Linked DNA regions of Homo sapiens: regions 2, 3 and 4 are each linked to region 1. Evidence: promoter capture Hi-C in human tissues and cell types (Jung and others, 2019). All regions are on one chromosome and are shown on one strand. The core of a region is centred on a gene start or on the middle of the fragment in contact, and the rest is flanking DNA. Distances in the headings are between cores, read along the strand shown. Region 1 holds the start of C1QB (complement C1q B chain). Region 2 overlaps KDM1A (lysine demethylase 1A). Region 3 has its middle 6.0 kb from the start of LACTBL1. Region 4 has its middle 34 kb from the start of LACTBL1.

What was found. Contacts are between HindIII fragments. The study calls those that stand out against the background at their distance.
Region 2: a fragment that was not itself captured here is called in contact with the fragment with the promoter of C1QB in region 1 in 1 of the 25 tissues and cell types used here (adrenal gland).
Region 3: a fragment that was not itself captured here is called in contact with the fragment with the promoter of C1QB in region 1 in 1 of the 25 tissues and cell types used here (liver).
Region 4: a contact is called between a fragment that was not itself captured here and the fragment with the promoter of C1QB in region 1, in 3 of the 25 tissues and cell types used here (bladder, liver and mesenchymal stem cells).

What each region holds. Positions count from the first base shown.
Region 1 is chr1:22,651,472-22,655,238 of GRCh38, reverse strand. It overlaps C1QB (complement C1q B chain), which reads right to left and starts at 2,003. Exons shown (of 3, transcript NM_001378156.1): 1 at 1,936-2,003. The HindIII fragment of the contact is 7,433 bases long and covers 441-3,767 here.
Region 2 is chr1:23,038,653-23,042,419 of GRCh38, reverse strand. All of the region lies in intron 2 of KDM1A (lysine demethylase 1A), which reads right to left. Among named protein-coding and RNA genes, the nearest start is that of MIR3115, 3.8 kb to the left of the region's middle. The HindIII fragment of the contact is 3,708 bases long and covers 255-3,767 here.
Region 3 is chr1:22,976,961-22,980,727 of GRCh38, reverse strand. No RefSeq gene overlaps it. Among named protein-coding and RNA genes, the nearest start is that of LACTBL1, 6.0 kb to the right of the region's middle. The HindIII fragment of the contact is 8,506 bases long and covers 1-3,767 here.
Region 4 is chr1:22,936,732-22,940,498 of GRCh38, reverse strand. No RefSeq gene overlaps it. Among named protein-coding and RNA genes, the nearest start is that of LACTBL1, 34 kb to the left of the region's middle. The HindIII fragment of the contact is 7,465 bases long and covers 1-3,767 here.

The DNA of each region.
Region 1 (3,767 bases), core at 754-3,253:
ATAAGCATCAGCTCTCACTCTTGCTCTTGCTAAAGGTTTTACAAAATGGCAATTTAACAACTTTAATAAGTTGGGTACGTATAGGCCAGGCTCTGAGCCAGATGGCTTGCATGCCATTATCCCCTGTAATTTGATATTCAGCCCCTGAGAATGCACTCTTGCTTTCTTATTTTACAGATGAGGCAACGGGATCAGAGAGGGCAAGCACCTTGATAAAAGTCACACAGCTCCTGTGTGGCTGGGAGTCAAACCCACATCCACTGGATCTTAAAACTCAATGTTATGTTAAGAGGCCACTGTACCTGGTGGTAAAAACATAAACTTTGAAGCCAGACAGCCTGATAAAAGGACTAATGCATGGGACACACCAAGGGTAGTGGTAGGCACATGGTCAGTGTTCGGTGAAAGTGGCTTTTTACCACCACGATGATTGCTGCTCTTGTTAGGCAGCACACATTCACCTGGTGGCGGGAGCCTGTAGTGTCACAAGGAAAGCAACACTCAGCGTTCACATAAGGTCTCTACTGCTTCTTAGCTAAGGGACTTGGGAAATCACTCCTTCTCTCTGGCCACAGTTTACCCTCCTATAAAGTGGGGATAATGCTACTCTCTCCCTCATAGGGTATGTGCGAGGACATGAGTTACAGCTTCCAACAGAGCCTGGCATGTTGGAAATTCTTAATGAATATTAGCTATTTTATTATTATCACTGTCATCCAAGAATTCCTGAGTGGTTGAACAGAAGGGAAGATGGTTGGAGAAGTAAAAAAAGACAATCCCTTTGAAAGACTGTGTTTAGAGGGAGGGGCTCTGTCAGTTGGAGGCAGCAAGGGGTGGAGAGCTGTGACCAGTTGGTGGGGAGAGAGGGTGGGGAGCAGGGTACTGACAGGACTTGGGCTTCCTGGGGAAGCCAGGGGCAGGGGGAGTGGGAAAGTGCTGGTTCTAGCCCATTTCAAAAGCCACCGAGTTTCAGCCTTGGGTTAGGGCTTACAACTCATCTGGTTTAACTGCCTCCTGCCTGTGCCAGCCCATCATCATTGCCAGCGCGGTTTCTCCTGTCCTCCCCCCAGGCTCTGACCTTTCCATCTCCTTCGGTCCAGCAGTCCCTTTCCGCAACATGGAGTCAGGCCCACTTGACTTTAAAGCCCCATCTGCTACCGGCTGCATAACCTCAGGCAAGTGCCTTAACCTCTCTGAGCCTCTTGGCAATGCTGATTTCAACCTGACAGGGCTGCCAGAAGGATGACAGGAGAAGGCGCTTAGAAGAAATAAGGTCCCCCCTGCCCCGTGCAGTGCCACATCCCACTCCCCAGCTGCACAAACATTGCGCTCACTCAGTACTAGCTGAGAACTCATCGTAACTCTACCTGCACATCCCCTTATTTCTTTGGAAGAGTCAAGCTGAGCTTTCTCAGCGAGTATGAGGAAATAAGCAAGGTGTTGGGGAAATGCTGGGCCGGGCAGGAGCGACTGGCTTATAATCCCACTCCTGCCTCTGGTTTACTGATAAATTTTGAGCCAGGGCATGCACTAAGCTTTTGCAAGCTTGATCTCCTGTAAGGCACAGCAGTGCTGAAAGATTCTGTTCTCTGTAGGGGGGCCGGGCTGAGAGAGGTTAGGTGACTTGCCCAAGATAACCAATACATAAGGTGCAGAGCCAGACTCAGCTCAAGTCTCTGCGATGCCAAAGCTCCTATGTGCCAGGCTCCCGCTTTAGGTGGCCTGCCCATCCGCTAGGCCCTGGGTAGCAGCAGACTCCCCAACTCACCCCAGAGATCTGGGTCCCATAGGTCTGGGATTGGGCCCAGCTACCTGCACTGTTAAACAGCCTAACTGGCTCCGAGGCAGGTGACGCAAAGCTCACACTTACGGAATCACCACTTTCTGCCATATTGGCCCTGCCAGCCTCCCCCAGGCGCCAAGCCCCGTCCTCACCTGGGAAGCTGGTGTCCTGTGAGGCCACTGGGCTGAGCAGCAGTGGGACCAGGAGCCGAGAGCCTACTGCCCTCGGTCCGAAGCGGAAGTTCCCTTCCCCAGAGGCGGGAAGGGCTTTCCCCTGACGGTCCCCTCCCATGGACCAGCAGGCTGGCCCCTTTCCCGTCCCCTCACTGTCCCCCCACCCTGCTGCCCTCAGGCAGTTTCAGGTCCTATTTCTGCAACCCACTGGATTTACTGTAAATGAGACGGGTGGGTGGCAAGTTTGGTTCTGCCAACTCAGCAGCTGTGGGGAGAACACGCTGTCCTGGGGGAACATCCACAGCTCACCCTCCCAGGCTCTCTGACCTCGTGATCTTCTTCTACACTGGGCAGGGGTGTTCCTCAGTGAGCATCATGTGGCGGGCCCGCTGCCTGAGTGCTGGCTTACAGTCAGAGCCTTTGATTCCAATCCCGCCTCTGCCACTTGCCAGTTGATGTGTTGTCAGTCAAGGGAGCCCCAATTTTCTCTGCTATAGGATGGGACCATAATTGTACCTGCTCTACAGATACAGATCTCACAGGCCACTGGGAGGATAATGGAGGAAATGATGGGGGAGGAAGTGTCTGGGGGTAAACTGTAAAGGGCTGTGCACGTGTTCATTGTTAATATCACTTCATGTCCCAGGCTTCCCCTTTCTGGGCTCATCTCTTCTGCTTCCTTCCCATTCTGTGCCCCTGCTCTTTCCCTGTTCTCAGAAAATAATCTCATAATGAATTTTAAATGTGTTCATTATTTATTGATACCCCTCCCTCTGCTTCCAGCAGGGCTGGACGCTGATGACAATAATAGGCCCAGGCAGGGGCCTGTTGCTTCTTCTCGATCCTGGAATCACGCCAAGTTAGGGCCGGAGAGGGGCTGAGGTTACTCGGCCCATCCTCCTCATTTTATATACGAGGAAACTGAGGCCCAGAGGGGAGACCCACCATTTAACAAATATTTAGTGTTTGCTTCCATGTGCACTGAAGAGAGAGCTCTTAGCAAATCAGCCATGGTCCCTGCCCCCATGGGGCCTCCCTTCTACGGGGGGAGACTGGTGTTAAACACGGAATGACATGAGGCTTCATTGCTTCTGTGATAAATGTCACAGAAAGACGTGACTGCTGGGGCCGATGCCTCATGGAGGTGGCAGATGCAGACCTGGAAGCCGGCATCCCTGGCACTAGGATATCAGTCTCTCCCTGTGGCTGCGTCTCAGACGACATGATGACTAGCAAGCACCAGGAGCTGGAGGCCCTCTTGACATCTGTGCTTGGAGATGGAAATTCACTGGGCTTGTGGATGCAGCTTGGTGGAAATTAAGTGTTAACTGCAATGGGTGAACAGGAGGGAAAGATAAGTTTGATAAAACCAAAAGGTCTCTGAGCTCAGTCAACTATAGTCCCGAAGGGACCCAGGCTAGGGTGAAGAGAAGAAACACTGGATTCCACAAAGGGAGAAACGAGTTAGTAGGTTGCAAGTTGAGGGCTTCTGAGCATTCCCAAAGCCGAGTGGCTCTGGGCCTCTAGTTCTTTTTTTTTTTTTTTTTCTTGAGATGGAGTCTCAGTCTGTTGCTCAGGCTGGAGTGCAGTGGTGCGACCTCAGCTCACTAGAACCTCTTCCTCCCAAGTTCAAGCGATTCTCCTGCCTCAGCCTCCCAGGTAGCTGGGACTACAGGTGCATGCCACCAAGCCCAGCTAATTTTTGTATTTTTTTTTAGTAGATACAGGGTTTCACCATGTTGGCCAGGCCGGTCTCAAACTCCTGACCTCAAGTTGATCTGCCTGCCTCGGCCTCCCAAAGTGCTGGGATT
Region 2 (3,767 bases), core at 859-3,358, 390 kb before region 1:
AAAAAATGTTGCCATTGTTTCGTTTGGTTCCAAATAAAACCAAGCTGGATCAGAAAACTGAATTTTATTTGGGCAAGAAAGGGAGCAGGGAGGGACTCAGAACAATGAAACAAATAGTTTCCAAGAATCACACTTAAGATTAGGAATAATACAGCTGTTATCGTTCAAATTATGTTTCTGACTTGGCAAAAATAAAAGTGACAGTCTCTTGTCATGAAGGTATCTCACCACTAAAAACTTAGATAAAAACAGCAAAAAACCGACAAAACAAAAAACACACACTTTGAAGCTAGCCTAAGCCTGAATTACTTTATCTTTCCTATTCCTCTCATTTCCCTTCTTTTCCAACTATAATACATGTCATACAATAAACTCACTAATTTAAGCTACAGGTAGCTCTTGACTGATTTTTGTGTGTGAATCAATGGTGCTTTGATTCACAAAAAAAGATGGATTTCTTACCCCTGACTTGCGTACTCAATAGGTTAACCAGGACAAAAGGGCAACGAGGCAGTCTTTTTTGTCTTCTGGTTTTGAAGAAAGGAATTAAAAAACCTCTTAAAAAGATTTTTTTTAATTTAAAAAAATGCAGGAAAATGTAGAAAATATTCAATACCCTGCAAAGATTTTTAAAAGGGATCCCATAACAACAAAATGTCAAAAAAGAAATGAAACTCCAGGCTGGGCACAGTGGCTCACGCCTGTAATCCCAGCACTTTGGGAGGCCGAGGTGGGCGGATCACGAGGTCAGGAGTTCAAGACCAGCCTGACCAACATGGTGAAACGCTGTCTCTACTAAAAATACAAAAATTAGCCAGGCGCTATGGTATGCACCTGTAATCCCAGCTACTCAGGAGGCTGAGGCAGGAGAATCGCTTGAACTCGGGAGGTGGAGGTTGCAGTGAGCCGAGATTGCACCACTGCACTCCAGCCTGGGCAACACAGCAAGACTCGGTCTCCAAAAAAAAAAAAAAAAAAAAAAAAGCAAGAAAAGAAACTCAAAAGTATTATTTAAGCAGAGGAGTAGAAAGAAACCAAGCAGAAGGTACCACATAAGAAATGATGGAAAACAAAATTTAAAAGTGCTTAAAATTAAATTAAGAAACAAGTTATTTATCTCTTGATAATGGTTTAACTTGCTTGGAAATAAAGAATGAAGTTATTATTTTCACTCCAATCATACTTGAGAGTATTTTGAAGATGCCTACTTCTCCAAAGACAACTGAAAGATCATCTTTACTAGCAGTATATTATAGACCAATTCTTGAACATTTTCTTAAAAACAGCACATACACAACACTGCTTGCAGCTAACTTTTCATCCAAGTAGTCTCTGATTATGATATATATAAAATCCCTTATTCATCTGCTCTTTGGGTCTTTCCAGCCTAGGACTCTGTTTCTGATAGTGGCTCAGGACACATTAACAGCAGGCAAGTAGCGCTGTTAGCTTTCCATGAGTGCAAATTCAAAACAGAAAATGAAAATATTCAAAAGCAACTTTGTAATATCACCTTGATTTTGGCACCACTACACAAGAAACTCCCTTTTGTTTTTATCCCAAACCACCAAACCTACAAAATAGTCCTCAAGCTTGAAGCAGAGACTCTTTTTAATTTTTTAATTATTTTTAGAGACAAGGTCTTGCTCTGTCGCCCAGGGTGGAGTACAGTGGTGCAATCACAGTTCACTGTAACCTTGAACTCCTGAGCTCAAGGGATCCTCTTGCCTCAGCCTCCTGAGTAGCTAGGACTACAGGCATGTACCACCATACCTGGCTAATTTTTTTTTTTTTTTTGTAGAGACGAGTTCTCGATATGTTGCCCAGGCTGTTTTTGAACTCCTAGCCTCCCACTTCAGCCTCTCAAAGCAACAGGATTATGAGCGTGAGCCACCACAATCGGCCTAAAGTAGAGACTCTTCATACAGCTTATTTGTACACAGCTACTCCAAATTGAAAATGAAGATCTTTTTGATTTATCTTACATAACAGCCTTTCAGTTGTCTTCTAGACCTTCAGATCTAAGAGTCCTTCTTGAAGCGTGAAGTGTTGTAGTTATAATCACATTACTGAATGTTTTCTCATCTGAATTCAAATACTCAAGAGATCACTCTTCCAACATCTTAAAAGGAAGTCTATGTTGACTTTCAAATGCTTTTATCTGGCAAACAAACAAGGAGGTGAAAATCACTGGTTGGTTGTTTCCAGAAACACAGATTCACATTTTGACTAGTTTCTTGGAATCACATTCAAATTACAAACATTTTAAGAAACTTCTAAATCTAGGAAGCAACGATTTTCCAATAGAAGATAAATTTACCAAAATGGCCAAATTTATGGAATAAAAGTGAAGGCCAACCTACTGATTTCAATTGAATTTAATAAATTAGCAGGTGAAAGAAACATTTCAAAAGTTAAAGCCAACTTGGAATATATGTCTCTACCGTATTAACGCACTAATTGAGTTTCTTATTTAATAATCAGTGTTTACCGTATCTGCCCCAAAACTGCAAAGCACAAATACAAAAGTAGAACAGGTAGACTCTCTGTTTTCAAAAAGCTTATAATCTAGTTGAGAAAAGATGAAAAATACCTACAAGGAAACTTTTGTTGTTAAGAAACGAGAAGCTGACACAGTCTTGGAGAATCAGGGAAGCTTTCAGAACAATTCCCGAGAGATCTGGATAGACTGCGAGGCAGTGAAACCACGACTATGGTCCAGATCATTTACAAAGATAAAGAGAAAAGCACAGACATGGTATGTGCAGAGGACTGCTCGGTACCTACTTTCAGAAGGAGATGGTCTGAAAAAGCAGTGGGAGATCAAGTGGATTGGTAAAATGATCCCTTTCCAGTACCCAAACCTGAACGTGATTTTAGTAGTAATGAAGGAAAAGTGTGTGATCTTTGGCACAAAGACAACAAAACAAATGCTATTTTAGTTAAACTAATCTGGCCACTTTGTACGAGATGGATTAGAGGGAAAACCTAGATAAAGGAGATCCAATTCAAAGGCTATTGAAATAATTTACATACAAGTTGAAATTCACTAGAAAAAGGTGACAGTAAAAATGGGTAAGGCCTAAAAAATGAAAAAGACTGCACAGTAAGATGCATGACTTTACAACAGACTTGGTAAAAGGGATAAAGAACTTTCAGGATGACTCTAGGGTTTTAAGTTCAGAAGACTAGTAATGCTACAAACAAAATGGGAAATTTGGGAGACTGGCTAATACAATTAAATGGAAATGTTCTAAAGATGGTTGGAAATTAAACAATAGAACTCAGAAGTAAGAATGGGGCTAAAAGACTTCAAAATAGCATGGAAGTAATAATAGGCTCAGATAATTTGAAGCAGTCATAAATGCATGATTAATCTCATGAACATAAGGAAAGTCACAGTTTCAAAAAGGAATTGACAGTGGCTCACACCTGTAATCCCAGCACTTTGGGAGAGACCAAGTCAGGAGGATCACTTACAACAAGGAGTTCAAGACCAGCCTGAGCAACAGTCAAAATGAAATTATGAGTTCCAACTAGAATAGCAATCCCTGGGTTACAGTATCATGTAAAATACTGAAGTAAAACAGCCTTCTTAAGGTTTAGAAAAAAAGAAAAATTGTTTTGCTTGAAGCAGGAGCTTGCCTGGAACTTCCACTGAACTGCTGAAAGAACAATAACACCACAGATATGTGCTTGAAGACTTCCACTGGGTAGTAGCAAGGATCTTATCAAAAGAAAGTAAAAGGCCCTACAAGCTAGGGAGA
Region 3 (3,767 bases), core at 842-3,341, 330 kb before region 1:
GGATAATTTTTGTAGTTTTTGCAGAGAACAAGGTCTCACTATGCTGCCCAGGGTGGCCTTGAACCAGAGTGCTCCTTTAAAAATAAGTCAGCTGGGCATGGTGACTCATGCCTATAATCCCAGCACTTTGGGAGGCTGAAGCAGGTGGATCACCCGAGGTCAGGAGCTTGAGACCAGCCTGGCCAACTTGGTGAAACCCCACCTCTACTAAAAATACAAAAATTAGCAAGCTGTGGTGGTGCGTGCCTGTAATCCCGTCCACTTGGAAGGCTGAGGCAGGAGAACCGCTTGAACCTGGAGAAGGAGGTTGCAGTGAGCCGAGATTGCGCCACTGCACTCCAGCCTGGGCAACAGAGCAAGACTCCATCTCAAAATAAATAAATAAATAAATAAATAAATAAATAAATAAATAAATAAGTAATAAAACAAAAAGTGTCAGCTGGGCGTGGTGGCTCATGCCTGTAATCCTAGCACTTTGGAAGGCCAAGGTGGGACAATGGCTTGAGCCCAGGAGTTTGAGACCAGACTGGTCAACATAGCAAGACTCCATCTCTACAAATAATCAAACAATTAGCCAGGCAAAGTGGTGCACACCAGTAGTCTCAGTTGCCCAGAAGACTGAGGTGGGAGGATCACTTGAGCCCAGGAGGTTGAAGTTGCAGTGAGCTGTGATTGCGCCATTGCCTCGGTGACAAAGCAAGACCCTGTCTCAAAAAAAAAAAAAAAAAAAAGGAAACAAAATAAATAAAAATATGAGTCATGGCCGGGTGCCTGTAATCCCAGTGTTTTGGGAGGCCGAGGTGGGAGGATCCCTTGAACCCAGGTGTTTGAGGCTGCAGTGAGCTATGATCATACCACTACACTCCAGCCTGGGCAACAGAGTAAGACCCTGCCTTAAAAAAAATGTGAGTCAGATTGTGCTACTCCTCTGCTTTCAAACTCTGCAAAGGCTCCCACTTCACTCAGAGGGGAGCCAAAGTCCTTCCTGTGGCCTAGAAGGTTCTATGTGACCATCCTGACCTCTTACTTCCCTACCTCACCTACTACTTTGCCCTTTGCTTAGTCTGCTCCAGCCACTGGCTTCCTTGCTATTCTTTTAACACACCAGGCACATTCCACCCTAAGGCCTGAGCACTGGCTGTTCCCTCTACTGTGAACACTATTCCTCTGTTGTCCATATAGCTAACTCTCTTATTTCCCTTAGGTGATTTGCTAAATGCTTCTTTCTCAATGAGGCCCATTCTGATCTCCCAATTTAATACTCTAATCTACCCCTCTTACCCAGCTCTATTTATTTTACCATGACATATATTATTTTATTTTTAATTTATTTTTATTTTTGGAAACAGGTTTTCTTCTGCTACCCTGGCTGGATTGCAGTGGCGTGCTCATGGTTCACTGAAGCCTTGACCTCCTAGGCTCAAGTGATCCTCACTCATTAGCTTCCTTGAGTAGCTGGGACTACAGGCATGCGCCACCACGCCTGGCTAATTTTGTTGTTTCTTTTTTTTGTTTGTTTTGTTTTTTTTGTTTTTGTTTTTTGAGACAGAGTCTCGCTCTGTCACCCAGGCTGGAGTGCAGCGGTGTGATCTCGGCTCACTGCAAGCTCTGCCTCCCGGGTTCACGCCATTCTCCTGCCTCAGCCTCCCGAGTAGCTGGGACTACAGGCGCCCGCCACCATGCCCAGCTAATTTTTTTGTATTTTTTTTTTAGTAGAGATGGGGTTTCACCGTGTTAGCCAGGATGGTCTTGATCTCCTGACCTCACGATCTGCCTGCCTTGGCCTCCTAAAGTGCTGGGATTACAGGCGTAAGCCACTGCACCCGGCCAATTTTGTTTTTTTAAAAAAATGTTGTATAGAGACAGAGTCTCCCCTGTGTTGCCTAGGCTGGTCTGGAGCTCATGGCCTCAAGTGATCCACCTGCTTCAGCCTCTCAAAGTATTGAGATTACAGGCGTGAGCCACTGTGCCTGGTCATGTATCACTTTGTAATGCAGCATTTAACTTATTTATCCTGTTGCCCCTGCTAGAAGATGGGCTCTACCAGGTCAGGGACCTTTGTGTTGTTCACTGATATATCTGAAGCACCAAGAACAGTGCCTAGCGCTGAGTAGGTGCTCAATAAAAATGCACTGACAATGAATATCTGTTACTATATCTGCTTTGCCCCACACCCAAGTGTAAGACCCAGGGAATGGCAGATGTTCAGTAAATGTCTGTTGCATGACTCAGTGGGTAAGTGAGTGAATGGATGAATCAATGAATCAATCAAAGCCTGACTGCTGAAAATGCTAAGTATCTTCATATATCCTTTAGGAGGAACATTTTCCTTTGTAAAGTTTTTTTTTTTTTTTTGAGATGGAGTATGTCTCTGTTGCCCAGGCTGGAGTGCAGTGGCGCAATCTTGGCTCGCTGCAACCTCTGCCTCCTGGGTTCAAGAGATTCTCCTGCCTCAGCCTCCTGAGTAGCTGGGACTACAGGCGCATGCCACTACACCTGGCTAATTTTTTATATTTTTAGTAGAGATGAGGTTTCACTGTGTTAGCCAGGATGGTCTCCATCTCCTGACCTCATGATCCCACCCACCTCGGCCTCCCAAAGTGCTGGGATTACAGGCATGAGCTACCACATCTGGCCCTTTTTAAAGTTTAATTTGCCTTTGATTTGATATCTTTTCAACCTCTTTCTTCCTTCCTTTCTCTTTCTTTTTCTTTCTTCCTTCCTTTCTTTCTTTCTTTCTTTCTTTCTTTCTTTCTTTCTTTCTTTCTTTCTTTCATCTTTCTTTCTCTTTTTCTTTCCTTCCTTCCTTCCTTCTTTCCTTCTTTCTTTCTTTTCTTTCTCTCCTTCCCTCTTTCTCTCTTTATTTCTCTTGCTCTGTCACCCAGGATGGAGTGAAGTGGTGTGATCTCGGCTTGCTGCAACTTCTGCCTCTCGAGTTCAAGGGATTCTTGTGCCTCAGCCTCCCAAGTAGCTGGGACTACAGGCACCCGCCACCATGCCAGGCTAATTTTTGTATTTTTAGTAGAGATGGGGTTTTGCCATGTTGGCCAGGCTGGTCTCGAACTCCTGACCTCAAGAGATCTGCCCACCTCTGGCTCCCAAAGTGCTGGGATTACAGGCTTGAGCCACTGTGCCTGGCCCACATTCTTCTTCCTTCCTTCCTTCCTTCCTTGCTTCCTTCCTTCTTTCCTTCCTTCCTTCCTTCCTTTTTTTTTTTTTCTCTCTCTTTCTCTCTTTCTTTCTTTCAACAGAGTCTTGCTGTCACCCAGCCTGGAGGGCAATGACGTGATCTCGGTTCACTGCAACCTCTGCCTTCTGGGTTCGCGATTTTCCAGCCTTAGCCTCCCAAGTAGCTGGGACTACAGGTGCCCACCACCACGCCTGGCTAATTTTTGTATTTTTAGTAGAGATGGGGTTTCGCCATATTGGCCAGGCTGGTCTCAAACTCCTGACCTCCAGTGATCCGCCTGCCTTGGCCTCCCAAAGTGCTGGGATTATAGGCATGAGCCATCATGCCCGGCCCACATTCTTCTTTCTTAAAGGTCCTGATGCAGAGGGTGAGGACAATTAGTTTCTCCCAGGAGGAGAGGCCAATGAGACTCATGGTAATAAGAGTGACTAACATTTGCTGAGCACTTGCTGCGTGCCAGCTACTGGATTGTACATTTTAGGTGTATTATTTCATGCAATCCTCACTCCTCCCTGCAAGGAGGTGGGTTCTACTTCATTACCCCATTTTATGGATGAGCACATTGAGGTCCAAGAGA
Region 4 (3,767 bases), core at 645-3,144, 290 kb before region 1:
AGTTCTTTATTACACGACAAGAGAAAGCTGGAACAGTTATGAGGTACCCAACCGAAATTGAGTCATGAACAGCACTGATGTAAACTGCACTGAGCCTTTGCATTTATGAGTGTGGAGCAGGATAATATATCAAGAATTAGGCCAGACACAATGGCATATGTCTGTAATCCCAGCACTTTGACAGGCCAAGGCCCAGGAGTTTGAGACCAGCCTAGGCCACATAGTGAGACCCTGTGTCTAGAAAATTAAAAAAAAATTTAGCTGGGTGTGGTGATGCACACCTGTGGTCCCAGCTATTAGGAAGTCTAAGGTGGGAGGACTGCTTCCTCTTTTCTGATGTAAGCATTTATTGCTATCAATTTCCCTCTTACCACTGCTTTAGCTATGCCCCACATGTGTTAATATGGAGTATTCTTATTCTCATTAAAGTAAATATATTGTTAAATTTCTTTTGAGATCTATTCTTTGACCACATGAATTATTTATAAGTGTATAGCTTTGTTTCAAAGGGTTCAGAGATTTTCATGTTATCTCTATACTGTTGATTTCTAGTTTGATTCCACTGTGGTCAGAGAACACATTTTGTATGATTTCAGTTGTTTTTTTAGTTTGTTGAGGTTTGTTTTGTGGCTCAGGGTGTGGTCTATCTTGGTATATATTTCATTGGTGCTTGAAAACAATGTGTGTTCTGCTATTGTTGGGTGGATTGTTGGATGCCGATTAGATCCTGTTGGTTGTAGGTATTGAATTCTGTATCCTTCATGATTTTCCATCTGTTGTTCTATGAATTGTTAAGAGGGAAATGATATCGTGAAAATGGTGATACTACCCAAGGTAATTTATAGATTCAATGCCATCCCCATCAAGCTACCAATGACTTTCTTCACAGACTTGGAAAAAACTACTTTAAAGTTCATATGGAACCAAAAAAGAGCCCGCATTGCCAAGTCAATCCTAAGCCAAAAGAACAAAGCTGGAGGCATCACGCTACCTGACTTCAAACTATACTACAAGGCTACAGTAACCAAAACAGCATGGTACTGGTACCAAAACAGAGATATAGACCAATGGAACAGAACAGAGCCCTCAGAATTAATGCCGCATATCTACAACTATCTGATCTTTGACAAACCTGACAAAAACAAGCAATGGGGAAAGGATTCTCTATTTAATAAATGGTGCTGGGAAAACTGGCTAGCCATATGTAGAAAGCTGAAACTGGATCCCTTCCTTACACCTTATACAAAAATTAATTCAAGATGGATTAAAGAGTTACATGTTAGACCTAAAACCATAAAATCCCTAGAAGAAAACCTAGGCAATACCATTCAGGACATAGGCATGGGCAAGGACTTCATGTCTAAAACACCAAAAGCAATGGCAACAAAAGCCAAAATTGACAAATGGGATCTAATTAAACTAAAGAGCTTCTGCACAGCAAAAGAAACCACCATCAGAGTGAACAGGCAACCTACAGAATGGGAGAAAATTTTTGCAACCTACTCATCTGACAAAGGACTAATATCCAGAATCTACAATGAACTGAAACAAATTTACAAGAAAAAAACAAACAACCCCATCAAAAAGTGGGCGAAGGATATGAACAGACACTTCTCAAAAGAAGCCATTTATGCAGCCAAAAAACACATGAAAAAATGCTCATCATCACTGGCCATCAGAGAAATGCAAATCAAAACCACAGTGAGATACCATCTCAAACCAGTTAGAATGGCGATCATTAAAAAGTCAGGAAACAACAGGTGCTGGAGAGGATGTGGAGAAATAGGAACACTTTTACACTGTTGGTGGGACTGTAAACTAGTTCAACCATTGTGGAAGTCGGTGTGGCGATTCCTCAGGGATCTAGAACTAGAAATGCCATTTGACCCAGCAATCCCATTACTGAGTATATACCCAAAGGATTATAAATCTGGCTGCTATAAAGACACATGCACACATATGTTTATTGCGGCACTATTCACAATAGCAAAGACTTGGAACCAACCCAAATGTCCAACAATGATAGACTGGATTAAGAAAATGTGGCACATATACACCATGGAATACTATGCAGCCATAAAAAATGATGAGTTCATGTCCTTTGTAGGGACATGGATGAAGCTGGAAACTATCATTCTCAGCAAACTATCGCAAGGACAAAAAACCAAACACCGCCTTGTCTCACTCATAGGTGGGAATTGAACAATGAGAACACATGGACACAGGAAGGGGAACATCACACACTGGGGACTGTTGTGGGGTGGGGGAAGGGGGAGGGATAGCATTAGGAGATATACCTAATGCTAAATGATGAGTTAATGGGTGCAGCACACCAACATGGCACACATGTATACATATGTAACAAACCTGCACGTTGTGCACATGTACCCTAAAACTTAAAGTATAATAAGAAAAAATAAAATAATTAATATGAATAATAATGCAATGAATGAATTACAATAACAACATTCAACTAGTTGATAATTAATAATGCAATTACTGTTTGTTTTAAGTCACTAAGTATTGAAGTTCTTTATTACACGACAAGAGAAAACTGGAACAGTTATGAGGTACCCAACCAAAATTGAGTCATGAACAGCACTGATGTAAACTGCACTGAGCCTTTGCGTTTATGAGTGTGGAGCAGGATAATATATCAAGAATTAGGCCAGGCATAATGGCACATGTCTGTAATCCCAGCACTTTGAGAGGCCAAGGTCCAGGAGTTTGAGACTAGCCTAGGCCATATAGTGAGACCTTGTGTCTAGAAAATTTTTTTAAAAAATTAGCTGGGTGTGGTGATGCACACCTGTGGTCCCAGCTATTAGGGAGGCTAAGGTAGGGGGATTACTTGAGCCTGGAAGATTAAGGCTGCAGTGAGCATTGATCTCACCACGACACTCCAGCCTGGGCAACAGAAGGAGACCCTGTCTCAAAAAGAAAAAAAGTTAATTTGTGTTTGTTCTCACTATATTTTTTTCTTTTTGAAAATTATTTTATTTTGTTTTTATGTTTTTGAGACAGGATATCGCTTTGTTTTGTTTTTATTTTTTTGAGACAGGCACGATTATGGCTCACTGCAGCCTCAAGCTGCTGGGCTCAAGCAATCCTACCCTAGTCTCCCATGTAGCTGGCATCACAGGCTCATGCCATGCTTGGCTAATTTAGAAAATTTTTTTTTGTTGAGACAAAGTGTCACTTTGTTGCCTAAGCTGGTCTCGAACTCCTGGGCTTAAGCAGTCCTCCTGCCTTGGCCTCCCAGAGTGCTGGGATCACAGGTGTGAGCCACTGCGCCAGGCCATCTTTCTCTTTTTTAAAGGAAACTGCCAGGGCTTTAGTATTTTTTCTTCTCACTCTGGGAATCTTGCTGGGTGGAAGAGAAGCTACTTACAGGCAGTTGCTCTACTCTTTTGGTCAGAGCCTAAACTTGCAAAAAGAGCTCTGCAAGGTAGGCAGGGAGGGGAGCACCTTTGGAAGGCACTGAGGGAGAGAAGGAGATATCCTCAGACTGGAGTGAGGTGGAGGCAGGCAGCTTCCAGAGCAGCACCCAGGGTGCCCAGTGGGAATGCAGGGGCTGAATTCCAGCCCATATGCCACTTGGCATGTGTCCTGGTGCAAATCCAGGTCCTCCCAGAGCAGGCATCCATATGGGCCAATGGTGGCTCTGCAAAAGGCCCCTGGACCTTTGCACAAGTCTGAGGAGGAGTCCAGTAATTACAAAGGTCAAGTTTTCTACCAGCCCGGTAGGATGGGGGCTCGCTGGATTT